4 separate regions of the Homo sapiens genome follow, and all the other regions are linked to region 2. Evidence: promoter capture Hi-C in 16 types of primary human blood cells and fetal thymus (Javierre and others, 2016). All regions are on one chromosome and are shown on one strand. Each heading gives the region's core, a stretch centred on a gene start or on the middle of the fragment in contact. The rest is flanking DNA. Distances are from core to core; before and after follow the strand shown.

The links. Contacts are between HindIII fragments. The CHiCAGO score rates a contact against its expected background, and 5 or more counts as called.
Region 1: a contact is called between a fragment that was not itself captured here and the fragment with the promoter of SFXN5 in region 2, in 10 of 17 cell types (activated CD4 T cells, naive CD8 T cells, naive CD4 T cells and 7 more). The highest score is 8.2, in activated CD4 T cells.
Region 3: a fragment that was not itself captured here is called in contact with the fragment with the promoter of SFXN5 in region 2 in 2 of 17 cell types (naive B cells and non-activated CD4 T cells); the score reaches 5.4 in naive B cells.
Region 4: a contact is called between a fragment that was not itself captured here and the fragment with the promoter of SFXN5 in region 2, in 1 of 17 cell types (total CD8 T cells). The highest score is 5.1, in total CD8 T cells.

Annotation. Positions count from the first base shown.
Region 1 is chr2:73,194,551-73,197,915 of GRCh38, reverse strand. No RefSeq gene overlaps it. Among named protein-coding and RNA genes, the nearest start is that of NOTO, 6.3 kb to the left of the region's middle. RefSeq lists a silencer at 2,947-3,116. The HindIII fragment of the contact is 7,497 bases long and covers 1-3,365 here.
Region 2 is chr2:73,069,978-73,073,378 of GRCh38, reverse strand. SFXN5 (sideroflexin 5) reads left to right here and starts at 1,667. Exons shown (of 14, transcript NM_144579.3): 1 at 1,667-1,775. The coding sequence starts at 1,674. RefSeq lists enhancers at 1,069-1,548, 1,749-1,798 and a silencer at 1,939-2,728. The HindIII fragment of the contact is 14,604 bases long and covers 1-3,401 here.
Region 3 is chr2:73,174,064-73,177,759 of GRCh38, reverse strand. No RefSeq gene overlaps it. Among named protein-coding and RNA genes, the nearest start is that of NOTO, 27 kb to the left of the region's middle. RefSeq lists silencers at 296-375, 1,681-1,900 and enhancers at 198-871, 872-1,545. The HindIII fragment of the contact is 7,933 bases long and covers 1-3,696 here.
Region 4 is chr2:73,136,302-73,139,778 of GRCh38, reverse strand. No RefSeq gene overlaps it. Among named protein-coding and RNA genes, the nearest start is that of RAB11FIP5, 25 kb to the right of the region's middle. The HindIII fragment of the contact is 223 bases long and covers 1,172-1,394 here.

The DNA.
Region 1 (3,365 bases), core at 429-2,928, 120 kb before region 2:
CTAATATGACTTTATATTTCTTCTGTCCTCATCTCACACCTTTGGGATCCATGTCCATACATTTCCCCAGGTTTCTGTATATGTAAATTGGCAACATCATGAAATTGTTTTGGTGTGTATCATACCACTGTCTCATGGGAAAGGCTTTGTACTTCATTCTCTGTAGCCTGTTTGAACTTGAGTCTACCAGCAATGAGAGGCAGTGGAGGTAAATCCAGAGGGCCACCACTTCAAGGAAGGCCATTACAAGACCTTCAGGCAAGGGGAGATTCACTTCTTTTTTTTGAGACAGGGTCTTGCTCTGTCACCCAGGCTGGAGTGAAGTGATGTGATCATATCTCATTGTAACCTTGAACTCCTGGGCTAAATGGATCCTCCTGCCTCATGCCCAGCTAATTTTTCTTTTTCTTTCCTGTTTTTTTTTTTTTTGGTTTTGTTATTTTTAGTTCTTTTTGAAACCAAAGAAACCATTGGCTAATTTTTTAAATTTTTTGTAGAGACAGAGTTGCACAGGCAGGTCTTGAGCTCATGGGCTTAAGCAATCCTCCTGCCTCAGCCTCCCAAAATGCTGGGATTACAGGCATGAGCCACTGCGCCTAGCTGAGATTCACTTTTTCAGATAAGAGTGGAAAGTTACTTCTACTGTGAAAAGAGATTCAGCAGAATTTAGGGGCTCAGATTTGTTGGAACCTGGCCATATATATCTTCATCGCAATTTTTACAGTCTCTCTTCTTCCCAATCAATGACACAATTTTTAGCAGAAGAGACCTGAGAGGTTGGGAACATAATTTACATCATAGGACAGCCACAAAACTTTCAGGTCCTTTCCATGGACCTTGAGATGGGAATTCAAAATCCCGACTCCTCATATTCTTTCCCTAAATTCTTCAGGGCACTTAGAAACAACTCACCAATGTCATCATAATTGTTATATTCAAGCAAACATTTGGTCAATCAAAGATTTGACTTCTATAGACACCTGATTACAGTGTCTGCAAGTGATCATTTAAATAACTTTTTTGGCTGAGTGCAGTGGCTCACACCTGTAATCCCAGCACTTTGGGAGGCCGAGGCGGGCAGATCACCTGAGGTCAGTTCGAGACCAGCCTGGCCAACATGGTGAAACCCCATCTCTACTAAAAATACAAAAATTAGCCGGTCGTGGGGCTGGGTGCCGGTATTCTCAGCTACTTGAGAGGCTAAGGCAGGAGAATCGCTTGAACCCAGGAGGCAAAGGTTGCACTGAGCCGAGATCTTGCCATTGCACTCCAGCCTAGGCAACAAGAGTGTCAGACTCTGTCTCAAAAATAAATAAATTAAAATTAAAATTAAAATTAAATAAATAAATAACTTTTTTTCCTATGGCATACCATGAAGAACCAGTGATCTCTTTACCCCTGACAACCTCTGGTAAGGGTTATTTATGCCTTTAAATCTATTTAGGTCACAGAATCAATTCTAGATGACCCAGACTGAACCCATCACCCACTAAGGTTCTGTTATTCTTGGAACCATGTCCAGTAGCAGATTCTCTATTAGTCATGATCCAATCGGAGAAGCAGGACCCCTAGGAGTGACAAAGAATAAAGGATTTTTTTTTTTGAGATGGGGATCTTGCTCTGTTGCCCAGGCACATCTTGAACTCCTGGACTCAATGATTCTCTTGCCTCAGCCTCCTGAGTAGCTGAGATTACAGGTGCACACCACTGTGCCTAACAGAATAAAGGATTTTTTTTTTTCATCATACTCAACCCCAAAGAATAAAGGATTTTATTATGGGAATTTGACCTTACACAACTGTGGGAACTGGTAATAGCTCTCTGTGAGGATGTTACTTCTTTGTCTGGGTCTGGGACTAAAGTCCACAGGCAGGCATTGGGGAAGGAAAGATGGATGTGAAGTGGGAAAATTAGGACAAACTGGAACCCAGGAAGAAGGGCAAGAATGAGCTAAAACCTGCCTCAGTCTCACACCACCTCCAAGCCTCTCATTTTGTTAATGCAGGTGACTTGCAAGGAAGTCTGGTGTCCTTCATTCTGAAACTAAGCACATACTCGGCTCAGGAGCTGGGAAAACAGAAGAGGGTCTGGTGGGAGCTGAAGGACCTACACGCCCAGCTGTGGCCTCCATCTGCAAAACGAGCCAGTAGATCTGCCATAATGCGTGTGAGCTGCCATAGCACCTGCTCTGCACTGCTAAACACGGCTGCTGCTTCACTTCTGTGTCCTAAGCATCATGCCCAAAACCATTCAGGGAAGGAAATTCCGGGAAATGTAGTTCCAGCTTAGCTAAGTTGACACAACAAATTTATAATAAGGTTTAACCGGCCAGGCGCGGTTATCCCAGCACTTTGGGAGGCCAAGGTGGGCAGATCACGAGGTCAGGAGTTCAAGACCAGTCTGGCCAATATGGTGAAACCCCGTCTCTACTAAAAATACAAAAATTAGCCGGGCATGGTGGCATGCATCTGTAGTCCCAGCTATTTGGGAGGCTGAGGCAGAAGAATTGCTTGAACCCAGGAGGTGGAGGTTGCAGTGAGCTGAGATCGGGCCACTCCACTCCAGCCTGGGCAACAGAGTGAGACTCTGTCTCAAAAAAAAAAAAAAAAAAGTTTAACCATGTATAACATAAAACATAAATACCTTGGTAAAAGTCTAAAGGCATTCTTAGGCATGATAAACATGACAATCAAAATAAAGATGAGCTCCGGGTAGGGAGAAGGGAGTAGGATTAGGGAGGGTCACTTGGGCTGTCAACTTTCTGTATTGTTTTATTTCTTAACACAAAACAACCATAGTAAAAATGTTTGATGAAACTGAGTAGTGGTGGGTATATGGATATTCTTTTTATTATTCTCTATACTTGTCTATAGGCTTGAAATGTTTCATATTTTTTTCCTACCCCTCTGTATTTAAAAAAAAATTTTTGGCCAGGCCCAGTGGCTCACGTCTATAATCCCAGCACTTTGGGAGGCCGAGGTAGGCAGATCACTTGAAGTCAGGAGTTCCAGACTAGCCTGGCCAACATGGTGAAACCCCGTCTCTACAAAAAATACAAAAATTAGCTAGGTGTGGTGGTGGGTGCCTAAAATCTCAGCTACTCAGGAGGCTGAGGCAGGAGAATCGCTTGAACTCAGGAGATGGAGGTTGCAATGAGCCAAGATTGCACCACTGCACTCCAGCCTGGGTGATAGAGTGAGACTCCATTTCTAAATAAATAAATAAATATTAAAAAAAAAAGTTTTTTTGTAGTGATGGGACATTGCCATGTTGCCCAGGCTGATCTCAAACTCCTGGCCTCAGGCAATCCTCTTGCCTCAGCCCAAAGGGCTGGGATTATAGTCTTGAGCCACCTAGCCCAGCTG
Region 2 (3,401 bases), core at 418-2,917:
GGCTCTGTTGTGTTCCTGTTTTGGAATGAACAGTTACAGGAGGCTGCTGTGGGAGAAAGCACCTTAAATCAAGGTGATGGGATTCTTGGATGACACTGTCCCTGCCCCTTATAAGGGGGCAGCAGCACAGTGTTGCCCAGCAGCCTGAACTTAGTCTTTTCTGACTCCCAGGGTACCCACATTTATTGCGCACCTAAGATGGGCCCATTTATTGGTAATACAGAGGGTAAGAAATGGATTCCTATTCTCAAGTTGCATGGTCTAGCAGGGGAAGATAAGATACAAATCCAAGATACAAATAGTTCTTCATGGCTAGATAGAATCTCTAAGATAAGATACAAATCCAAGATACAAATTGTTCTTCGTGGCTAGCTAGAATCTCCCCCTAGCTTTATGAAAAGTGTTTCTTGTGGTTCAACTACTAGAGGATGAAAAACTTTGACTGCTACAGCTCATGTAGTGTCCAGAAACACTGGCAGACATGAGCCAACCCTGCACTCCACCACGAGACTAATGAGACCCAAAGTGGAGTTCCCTAGAAGACCAAATATTTCTACTGTCATCTTGGGCAAAACAGGCAGCTCCCGAAGTCTGGCTCACTGACCAGGTAATTCAGCTGGGAATCTTCAGCTAATCCATTCTACAACTGTATGTGTTTATTATCCATACTGATCCTTACTCCACAATCTGTAATACTCCCCCTTACCTAACACCCTCCCCACCCACCCTAGTCCCAAGTTCTCCTCCTGCCCAGGAATTAGGCCCAGGAGGGATCTTCCTTGGTTGGCCAGACAAGGTGAAAGCTGCCAGGGCTCTTAATCCCCCACTGATGAACTCACAGCCAACACTTATTTGAGTCTCTACTGTGAGCCCTTTTATGTCTGGCTCTGAAAACTGAAGTGAATCAAAAAGTCATAGCCCCTGCCCTGTGAACTTTACAGTAAGAAAGACTGTCCAGAACAGTAAGTAGTTGTGAGTGCAAAAGAGAAGTGCTGGGTGCCACGGAGCCTCTGTGGGATTTTGTGCAAGCAGAGTGATGGACTGGGAAATGCAATGTTTAGGCTAAAGCCAGAAAGCCAGCATCAGGCGAAGATTTAGTCTTCCGGGTACAGAATGTTCAGGGGTCGGGAGGCGGGCAGGCCCCAGCATGCTCCAGGAACTGAGTGTCAGGGCAGCCGGAGAGCACAGGACGAGTGGGCAGGGTGGCGACGGAGGAAAGTACGAGAAGGTCCGCAGTGCAACTCCTTGGAGAAAGCCTTCCGAGGTTAACCCTACTCCGCCTGGAGTCTTTGCCCATCTGGTCCCAGGTTCCCCCTTGAATGGGACCCTTCTGCGCTGCCTGGCCCCAGGAGCGACGCCCACGGCAGCAACTCTAACTTCTGGGGGCAACTAAGCAGCGAGGGGTGGCCCGTGGTCGTCGTACAGGAACACCTTTCCTGGACTGCCGACCTTGCACCTTGCAACGCGGACAGCGGGCACCGAGACCTCTCCGGACGGCCGCAACTCTCCGCAGTCTACGGTTGTAAGCGCCGCGACGCGAAAAACTACACTCCCCACAACGCCTTGCGCCTCCCGCTCGCTGCGGTTGATTAGGGCCAATCGGGAGAGGCAGCTGTGGCGGGGGCCGAGGAGGGACATTTTAAAAGGGCCGGAGATTGCGGGCGTCAGTGGCCATGGCGGATACAGCGACTACAGCATCGGCGGCGGCGGCTAGTGCCGCTAGCGCCTCGAGCGATGCACCTCCTTTCCAACTGGGCAAACCCCGCTTCCAGCAGGTGAGGACCGGGCTGTGGTCTGCGGGCCGGCGGGTGGCAAAGAGAGGACGAGCAAACTCCCCTCCAAAGTCCCCTTCCGCCCAAGGGTCTCCCACCCGCGGCCAGCGGAGCCTGCAGCTAGCGCCAGGGGGGGAACCTCGGTCACAGTCACCCTTTTCCCATTGGTCAACGGGGCGGGCGCGGACTCCCATCTTGGCTTCCTATTGGCCCTTGGCGCCGTCACTCCCCGACTGCCCGCGCCCTCTAGCCTTTCCCGCCCGCGGCGCCCTGTGATTGGCCACCGGCGGCTGCGGTCAAGGTCCCGAGCGCCCGGCTTCGAGCGGCTGCTCAGGGTCGCTCCGGGTTGTGCAGCTGCCCGCCCGGGACGCAAAGTTCTAGTCTGGCCCTGGATGGGAAGTTGGCGTGGCCGGGATGCCTTCTAACTTTTTCCCCCGGTGGGGACTGACGTTCCTTTCGAGCTGCTGGCGGTGCCGCCGGGCAGCGTCGCGCCCCGCGGTCACTCCCCAGCCCTGGCCCCCAAGCCGGGCTCGGCGCGCGCAGCAGGTTGAGGGGGCGAGTGCCGAGGCGAGCGGCGGTCCGGCGTCCCCCGTCCCTGCTCTCCATCTCGGGCTGAGGATTCGCTGACGCAGCAAGCCGGCCGATGCCCTGAGGGGACGCAGCCAGGGCGTGCGGGGGAAACGCTGTGTCATCCCCTGGGGCCGTCGTCCCTCCGAGGGGCTGCCGCCTGGGAACCCCCCCCCAGCCTCTTCCTCGCTGTGTTCTCCGCGGAGGGTCTCCCGCGCCCGGGCCCCCGCGCCGCCGGGGACTGGCTCTGGGCACACCCGCTCAGGCTCTTCGGGGCACGGCGACAGGGGTCCTTTCCCTCCGGGACCTCCTCTGGGGCGTCGCCGACTCGGCCCTAGACTGCGGAGGCGGGGGTGGAACGCGGAGCCCGGGCGCCTGGTTGGGCCCGGAGACCGGAGCCGGGGAGGGGCCGCTCCCGCGCCGCAGACCCTCGGGCTCCCGCGCCTCCCGCACCAATGAGACGGAATTTATTAGGAAACAGGCAGAGAGACCGCTGAAGTGAACCGGGGCTTGCCAGGGGTGGGCGGCAGCCGAGGCGGCCAGAAAAGAACTTTGAAGGAAGAAAGGAAATTGTGCTAAGGTCGGTGCGGTGGCTTTTTTTTTCTTTTTTTGTTGTTGTGGTGGAAGGGGACTGGTTCCAGCAAGGGGGTGCCCCGAGCTTTGCTGATAATTAGGGAACTTGGCTCCTGAGCCGTCTGAAAAAAATGTCCCCAGTGTTTCTTAACAGGACTTTAATTCCTTTTAAAAGTAGGCCATCTCAGCATGTAGGTATCCGAGGCGAGACTGGCATCTTCCTTCCAGTGTAGGAGGCCATCTAGGGCGAGAGTGTCGGGGTGTCCCTGCCTGGACTTGAGTGACCTTATTACATTGCCTGTCCCCGCTCCCACCCCCATTCTGCTCGTTCTTAAAGGCTCAGTCGGGCCTGCCTCTCTGGCAAACACTTGCTCCCTTCTTCTCTGGTCCCATCAGATCGCAGGCTTCCTCCTGCACATCTCTTTGGCCACCTGAGTCAGATCCTCATAGCTCTCCATACAGTCTGCCCTGTGGTCTTCTAAATGTTTG
Region 3 (3,696 bases), core at 616-3,115, 100 kb before region 2:
CTGAGGTCCCCTGAAAAGTGGGGTGATAGTGTCAGGTGGTACTGAGCCCAGTGATGGAGGCAGCAATTTGTTTTGTAAGTGCCTGCGGCTCCTGGGCGCAGTCCCAGCGAGGACGCGAGAACGCGCGGGGATGTGAACGGTGGGGGGCGCCCGGAACCGAGGAGCTGAAGGGCCCGGCGGACGTAGGCCGTCATTTCTCGCGGCGAGCAGCAGGGGGCGCGCGCAGACTGTACAATGCTGGCGCCCCACCTCCCGGCAGCGGGCGGGGACGCATCCCGCGGGTCTCTAGAGCGGGAGATCGCGCGGGAAAGGGCCGTGCCGGGAAGGGGCTGTGCCGGGAAGGAGCGGAGGGATCAGTGCTTCGAAGGGATCTGTACGCCAAGATGATCCTAACTCCTTAGGAGCTTCGAAGCTACGGGAAATGAAGCTGGAACGGGGGAGAGGGGGAAGGGCGCTGTGCCCCGGGGGCGGTAAAGGATGGGTGGTGGTGGGGAACGGGGACACTGTCGAGCGCTGACTACCGCTGCGCTCGGGCTGGTGGAGTCACTGCTTCCTAACTGTGGGGAAGAAACAAACATTCCCCGCCCCTCCTCCCAGGAGGAAGAGCCGGTCACTTCTGGAAGTCCCAGCAGCTCACTACGGAACTTAGGGGAGGGTGAAGAAGAGAAGGCGTAGAGCGGGGAAGTGGCTTGGTCAGTTCAGAAGCACCAATAGCATAGGACTTCATAACCTTCCAAGAAGAGGGCTGGTTACAAAGCGTCTTCGCCTCCCAGGGGCTGGGTTGGGGGTGTCCCAGGAGCCAGAGTGAGGCATGAGTGGGGAGTCCCTGCGTCACTCCAGAGAGGAGGCCCGCTTGGGCACAGGTGCCCCAGGGACCAGCCTACTGCGCTTTCAAGCCCCTACGTCTTTCTAAGGGATGAGGGATCCTATCCTAGACCAAACCTGCCAGCCCATACTGAACATACCGCCTTTCTTTGAAAGAAAAGTGGGGGGGAGGCTAAAGACCTTCGCAGAGGGACCCTGAGATGGAATCAGATGCTAAATTTGCGCACAGCCCTCTGAGCTGGAAAACTGGAGAACTTCCTGGAGGAAGAGGCTGGGAGCTAGCTGTGCCTTGATAGGTGGGCAGAATTTGGAGAAGCCAGGGCAAAGTCTTGTTTGTAGGAATGAGCAGTCCGCCTGGGAAACGGGAAAGAGTTGGAATTTGCGGGGCGGGAGGGCAGGGGCAGGGCCAGAGGAACTCTAGCTGGGGGTGCGGCTACCAGGAGAGGAGCTGGTTCTGGAGTTCTAGGCTGTCCTTCCGACCTCTGGGGGCCCTGAGATCTGGTTTAAGACTCGGTCTTGTACCCTGGGGCTGCTGGATGCCTGCCGAAGTCTCGCTTCCCGGAGCAGCTGAGGACTCAGCCCTGCGGCTGAGGTCCGCGAGTTCCCTGGACATCACCGGGTGTCGTGCCCGCCGCCCCGCCCTGCGGTCGCGGGCACTGACCCCCAAGTACGCACCGGGCGGGGCCCCGCCACTCTCCAGTCTTCACACCTCCGCCTTTGGGTCTTTTTCCTTCCCTTCCCCAACCGGTTCCCCTTCCCCTCGACCCACTAGGCAGACGGGGAACTAGGGGTGCGGGAGACGGGAGGGTTAGAACCAGGCCTCAAGACGGCGCGGCGAGGTGTGCCTGAGGATGGGGCGAAAGGAGACCGTGCCCGGGTGGCCTCTCCCGAAGGAAAAACCCGTCGCTCCCCATCCGGTGCCTGCCTCCCCGAGTATCCCCCGGGGTGGGCGTCGAGGGCACCCGGGCGCTGGGAGCCGGGGCCGCCCCCTTCCCCCACCACCGAGTCACTGCCGGGCAGGCACCGCCGCGGGCGGAATCGAGCACTGGGGATTGAGGCGGCCGCCGCGTGTTTGCCCAGCGCCCGCCCCCGCCGCCGCGGGCCCTAATCTCCGATACACTTGCGAGTTGGCTTCCTGCCCCGGGGCCCCGGCTCTGCAAGCAAACAGGCCGAGCGCGGCGCTGCATCCGAAATGCGGCATTTGAGCAGCGCGGCGAAGGCGAGCGGGGGAGCGGCCCACCCGGGTAATTGCCCTTCTCGGCTCCTAATCCCCCCGCCGGGCCCCTTCCGCCGGCTGCAGCCCATTGATTAGCTCAGGAGCCGCCGGCTCAACCCAGCTCCCGAGGGGCCATCACAATCCCCACCCTGGGCCCGGGAGGCTGTCAGGACCCCCGCGGGGTCCTTCCGGACTCAGAGCGGGAGCGTGCTCCTGGAAAGGGCAGTGAGATCGCCAGGGAAAAGATGGGGTGGGGGAGAAAGGGGACGTCCAAAAACTTGCAATGGAGCCCAGGCCATGCACGCCCCAGGCCGAGAAAGGCGGGACCTCAGACCCTGCTGTCCCGGTGAAGGAGACAGTGCAGAGGGCCCTTGAGCGCGACTGGGCTTGACACCCCTGAGAGCTCACTGTGGAGCCCGGGTTAGGAGATCCCCAACCACCCAAACACAAATCACCCTCAAGACCCCGTACTTATGCGGTGGCCTGAGCCTGCTTCCTGTGGTCTGCCCAGAGAAACCTGGGCCTCACAGGAGAGGAATGCCAAGTGCTTCAAGCTGGGAAATTGACATGGTCCATTCTACAAAATAGAGCTCAGTGCAGATGAGGAGAGAAATAGGGTTCTATGGAGCCTTTCGGGGCAAACCCACTGATGACTGGGTGATAGCTTCACAGGGACAAGACCCAGTTGCCATCTGGGGTGAGTTTTGTTTCTTCCCTCCCACCTTTCAGCTTCCTATCTGAGCCTGAACTTACACCCCTTCCCCCTCCCAGAATAGCCACCCCAGGCCAGGAAAACTGAGCATTTGCCTACTGAGTCGACCTCCCTGAGTCTAGGCCCACAGTTCAAAGCCTGACTTCTCTGTGCAGGGGCAAGGCTTGCTGCGGGGCCCTCTGGGATCTGGTGAGCAGGGGCCTTCTCTGACACCCTGAAACCTGGGAACAAACACTGGGGTTGGGGGCAGAGGCTGGGCCAATGTAGAACACAACAGCAGAGACACAGGAGAGAAATCAGGCTTCTGGCTAAGAGGAAACCATAGCAAACTAGACCCTCATGCCTCAGTGACCTCCCCTTGTATACCCTTGAACACGGCTGCACTAGGGTGAGGCAAGTGACGTTCCACTGAGGCACACATCTTAAGGAGGCACTCCCTCTCGAGGCCCTGTAAATGCAGGGCTAGCACCTGAGGGAGTGCGTCCTCCCCTCACTCTCATCCTTGGCCTGCCCTCATCTTGCCTAAGAGAGCTGTCCCCTGGCCTCAGATAGCTCCAGTCACTCCCATAACCTGTTGATTTGCCTCAGAGCCCCCCCATCACCTCGCCGTCATCCTCACTACTCACTCGGTTGGTACTGACTATATCTTAGGTGGAACAGCGCGAGGCAGGGACGTCATGCTTTGCAGTCACTGCCAAGAGCAGTACCTGTGTTATTCAGACACAAAGCTAGGCTCTATTCAGACATGGAGTGCTGAATAATACCTGAGTGAGTAAATACCATGTGTCTGCCACCCTCTTCTCCCTGAGGCCTGCCTGAATACTTTCCCCTAGACACGGCTGGCTGCAGTGGGCACTTCTAGGTTGCTCGCTTTACCTCAAGCCCCTTTTAATACTCAGGCCCCGCTGCCTGAGCGTGAGTTTGCACAATTGGTGCGTGCTTG
Region 4 (3,477 bases), core at 34-2,533, 67 kb before region 2:
CCATTGATGGTTAAAAAAAAACCCTTGAACTTGGAATAAAAGGGAGCTCTCTTAACTTGATAAAGCATATCTAACTGAAACCTACCATCAACATTACATATAATGATGCAAGACTGAATGTTTCTCCTTGAGATCAGGAACAAGGCAAGAATGTCAGCTCTTGCCACTTTCAATCAACATTGTCCTGGAGATTCAAGTCAGTGTGATAAGGCCAAAAAATAAGAATAAAGGCATCAACATTGGAAAAGAAGTAAAACTGTCTTTTTTTCCCACAGATGACGTGATCCTGTATATAGAAACAACAACAAACTACTGTTGTCGCCTGTAATCTCAGCACTTAGAGAGGCCAAGGCAGGAGGATTGCTTGAGCCAGCCTGGGCAACATAGCAAGACCCATCTCTAAAAACAAAACAAAACAGATAAACTATTATTGTTAAGATAGCAATATTGTAATATTGCCCAAATGGATCTGCAAATTTAATGCAATCCTGTGACATAACAAGAAATATATATTTGGTCTCTTCCCCGGGTTCCTAGCACAGAGCTGCTAAAAGTCTTGTGATTCCCCTGAGTGATAGGGGTGAGAGGAACACCTTTGGTTATTCATAATAAGCCCCTTTCAACCATACCTGGGTTTATGCTAATGAGGTGACTCTTGGAGGATGGGGGCTGGTTGACAGAGGAACCAACCTTGTAATTAGAGGGTTGGAATTTTCAGCCCCATCTCTTTGACCTCTGGGGAGGGGAGAAGGGCTGAAGATTAATGTCAGTCACAGAAGGTCAATGATTTAATAAATCATGCCTACATAATGGGACTTCCATAAAAACCCTAAATGACAGGGTTTGGAGATCTTCCAGGTTGGTGAACACATTAAGGTGCTGGGAGGGTGCGAGGCCTGAAAGGCTATGGAAGCTCTGTGCCCCTCCCTCCTCATACCCTGTCTCTTCCATTTGGCTGTTCCTGAGTTGTATCCTTTATAATAAACCGTACATGTAAGTGCTTCCCTGAGTTCTGCGAGCCATTACAGCAGATTATTGAATCTGAATAGGTGGTTGTAGGAAACCCTCACTTGTAGCTAAGTCACACAGAAGTGTGGGTAACCTGGGGACCCATTACTTGAGATTGGCATTTGAAGTCAGGGGCAGTATTGTGGGACTGAGCCCTTAAGCTTTGGGGTCTCACACTAACTCCAGGTAGCTACTGTCAGAGTTGAATTGAGTCATTGGACACCCAGTTGATGTTTGCAGAGAACTGAAGAATTGCTTGATGTGCGGGGAAAAAAATCCCAGACATTTGGTTTCGGAAGTGTTTTTGAGTATAGAAAACCTGTTTGTTTTCCCCTTTCAATACCTATCAAAATCTTGGTTGCCATTTTTGCTGAAATTGACAAGCTTATTCTAAAATTAATATGGAAATGCAAAGGATCTGGAATAGTGAAAATGATCTTGGAAAATAACAAAACTGGAGGACTCACACTTTCTGATTTCAAAACTTACTACAAAGCTACAGTAATCAAAACAATGTGGTATTGGCATAAGGATAGACATACAGGCCAATGGACTAGAATTTAGAGCTCAGACCTCACATGTAAGGTCTACTTATTTTTGGCCAAGGCAATTCAGTGGGAAAAGATATTTAATACAGTGTTGGTAAGGATGTGGAGAAACCAGATACCTCATACATTTCTGATGAGAATGTAAAATGGGCTAGGCACAGTGGCTTATGCTTGTAATCCCAGCACTTTGGGAGGCTGAGGTGGGTGGATCACTTGAGGTCAGGAGTTTGAGACCAGCCTGGCCCACATGGTGAAACCATGTCTCTACTAAAAATACAAAAAAATTAGCCGGGTGTGGGGGCGCATGATAGTCTCAGATATTCGGGAGGTTGAGGCAGGAGAATCAGTTGAGCCCAGGTGGCAGAGGTTGCAGTGAGCTGAAATTGTGTCACTGCACTTCAGCCTGGGCGACAGAGGGAGACCCTGTCTCAAAAAAAAAAAAAAAAAAAAAAAAAGAAAAAAGGAAAAGAAAAAGAGAATGTAAAATGTTACAGCCACTTCGAAGAACAGTTTGGCAGTTTCTTAAAAAGTTAAAACGAAAAACTTACCATTCCTAGGTATCTACCCAAAAGAAATGAAAACATATGTCCACAAAGACTTGTACATGAATATTCAGAGCAGCACTATTCATAATAACCCCAAACAGGAAACAGTCCAAATATCCATAAACAGGTTAATGGATCAACAAAATGTGGTAATGTGGTATATTCACACGACAGAACACAGCAATGAAAAGGAACTGCTTTTTTTTTTTTTTTTTGAGATGGAGTCTTGCTCTGTCGCCAGGCTGGAGTGCAGTGGCGCGATCTTGGCTCACTGCAACCTCTGCCTCCCGGATTCAAGCAATTCTACTGCCTCAGCCTCCTGAGTGGCTGGGATTACAGGCGCCCGCCACCACGCCCGGCTAATTTTTTTTTTTTTTTTGAGACAGAGTCTCGCTGTCACCCAGGCTGGAGTGTAGTGGCGCGACCTCGGCTCACTGCAAGCTCCGCCTCCCGGGTTCACGTCATTCTCCTGCCTCAGCCTCCCGAGTAGCTGGGACTACAGGCGCCCGCCGCCACGCCGGGCTAATTTTTTGTATTTTTAGTAGAGACGGGGTTTCACCGTGTTAGCCAGGATGGTCTCGATCTCCTGACCTCGTGATCTGCGTGCCTCGGCCTCCCAAAGTGCTGGGATTACAGGCGTGAGCCACCGCGCTCGGCCAAAAAGGAACTACTTTTTAGTAAAAAGGTCAGGCGTGGAAGCTCATGCGTATAATCCCGGCACTTTGGGATGCTGGGGTGGGAAGATCCCTTGAACCCAGGAGTTCAAGACCAACCTGGGCAACATAGAGAGACCCTATCTCTACAATAATAATAATTTAAAAAAGATGAAAAAGAAGGAACTACTAATATACACTGTGACACAGAAGAACCTCAAAAACATATTATACTAAGTGAAAGCCAGACATAAAGACTACATATTGTTGATCCCATTTACTTATATATATGTTTTGTTTGTTTATTTTGTTTATTTTATTTTACTTTTTTGAGACAGAGTCTCACTCTGTTGCCCCGGCTGGAGTGCAGTGGCGTGATCTCGGCTCAGTGCAACCTCTGCATTCCACATTCAAGCTATTCTCCTGCCTCAACCTCCCGAGTAGCTGGGATTACAGGCATGCGCCACCACACCCAGCTAATTTTTGTATTTTTTGTAGAGATGGGGCTTCGCCATGTTGGCCAGGCTGGTCTCAAACTCCTGACCTCAAGTGATCCGCCCACCTCAGCCTCCCAAAGTGCTGGGATTATAGTCGTGAGCCACCACGCCCGGCCATATTGTATGATCCATTTATATAAAGGGTACAGAAAAGACAAATCTATACAGAGAAAGTAGACCAGTGGCTGCCTGGGCTGGATCTGGTAGTAGGAACCAACTGCAGATA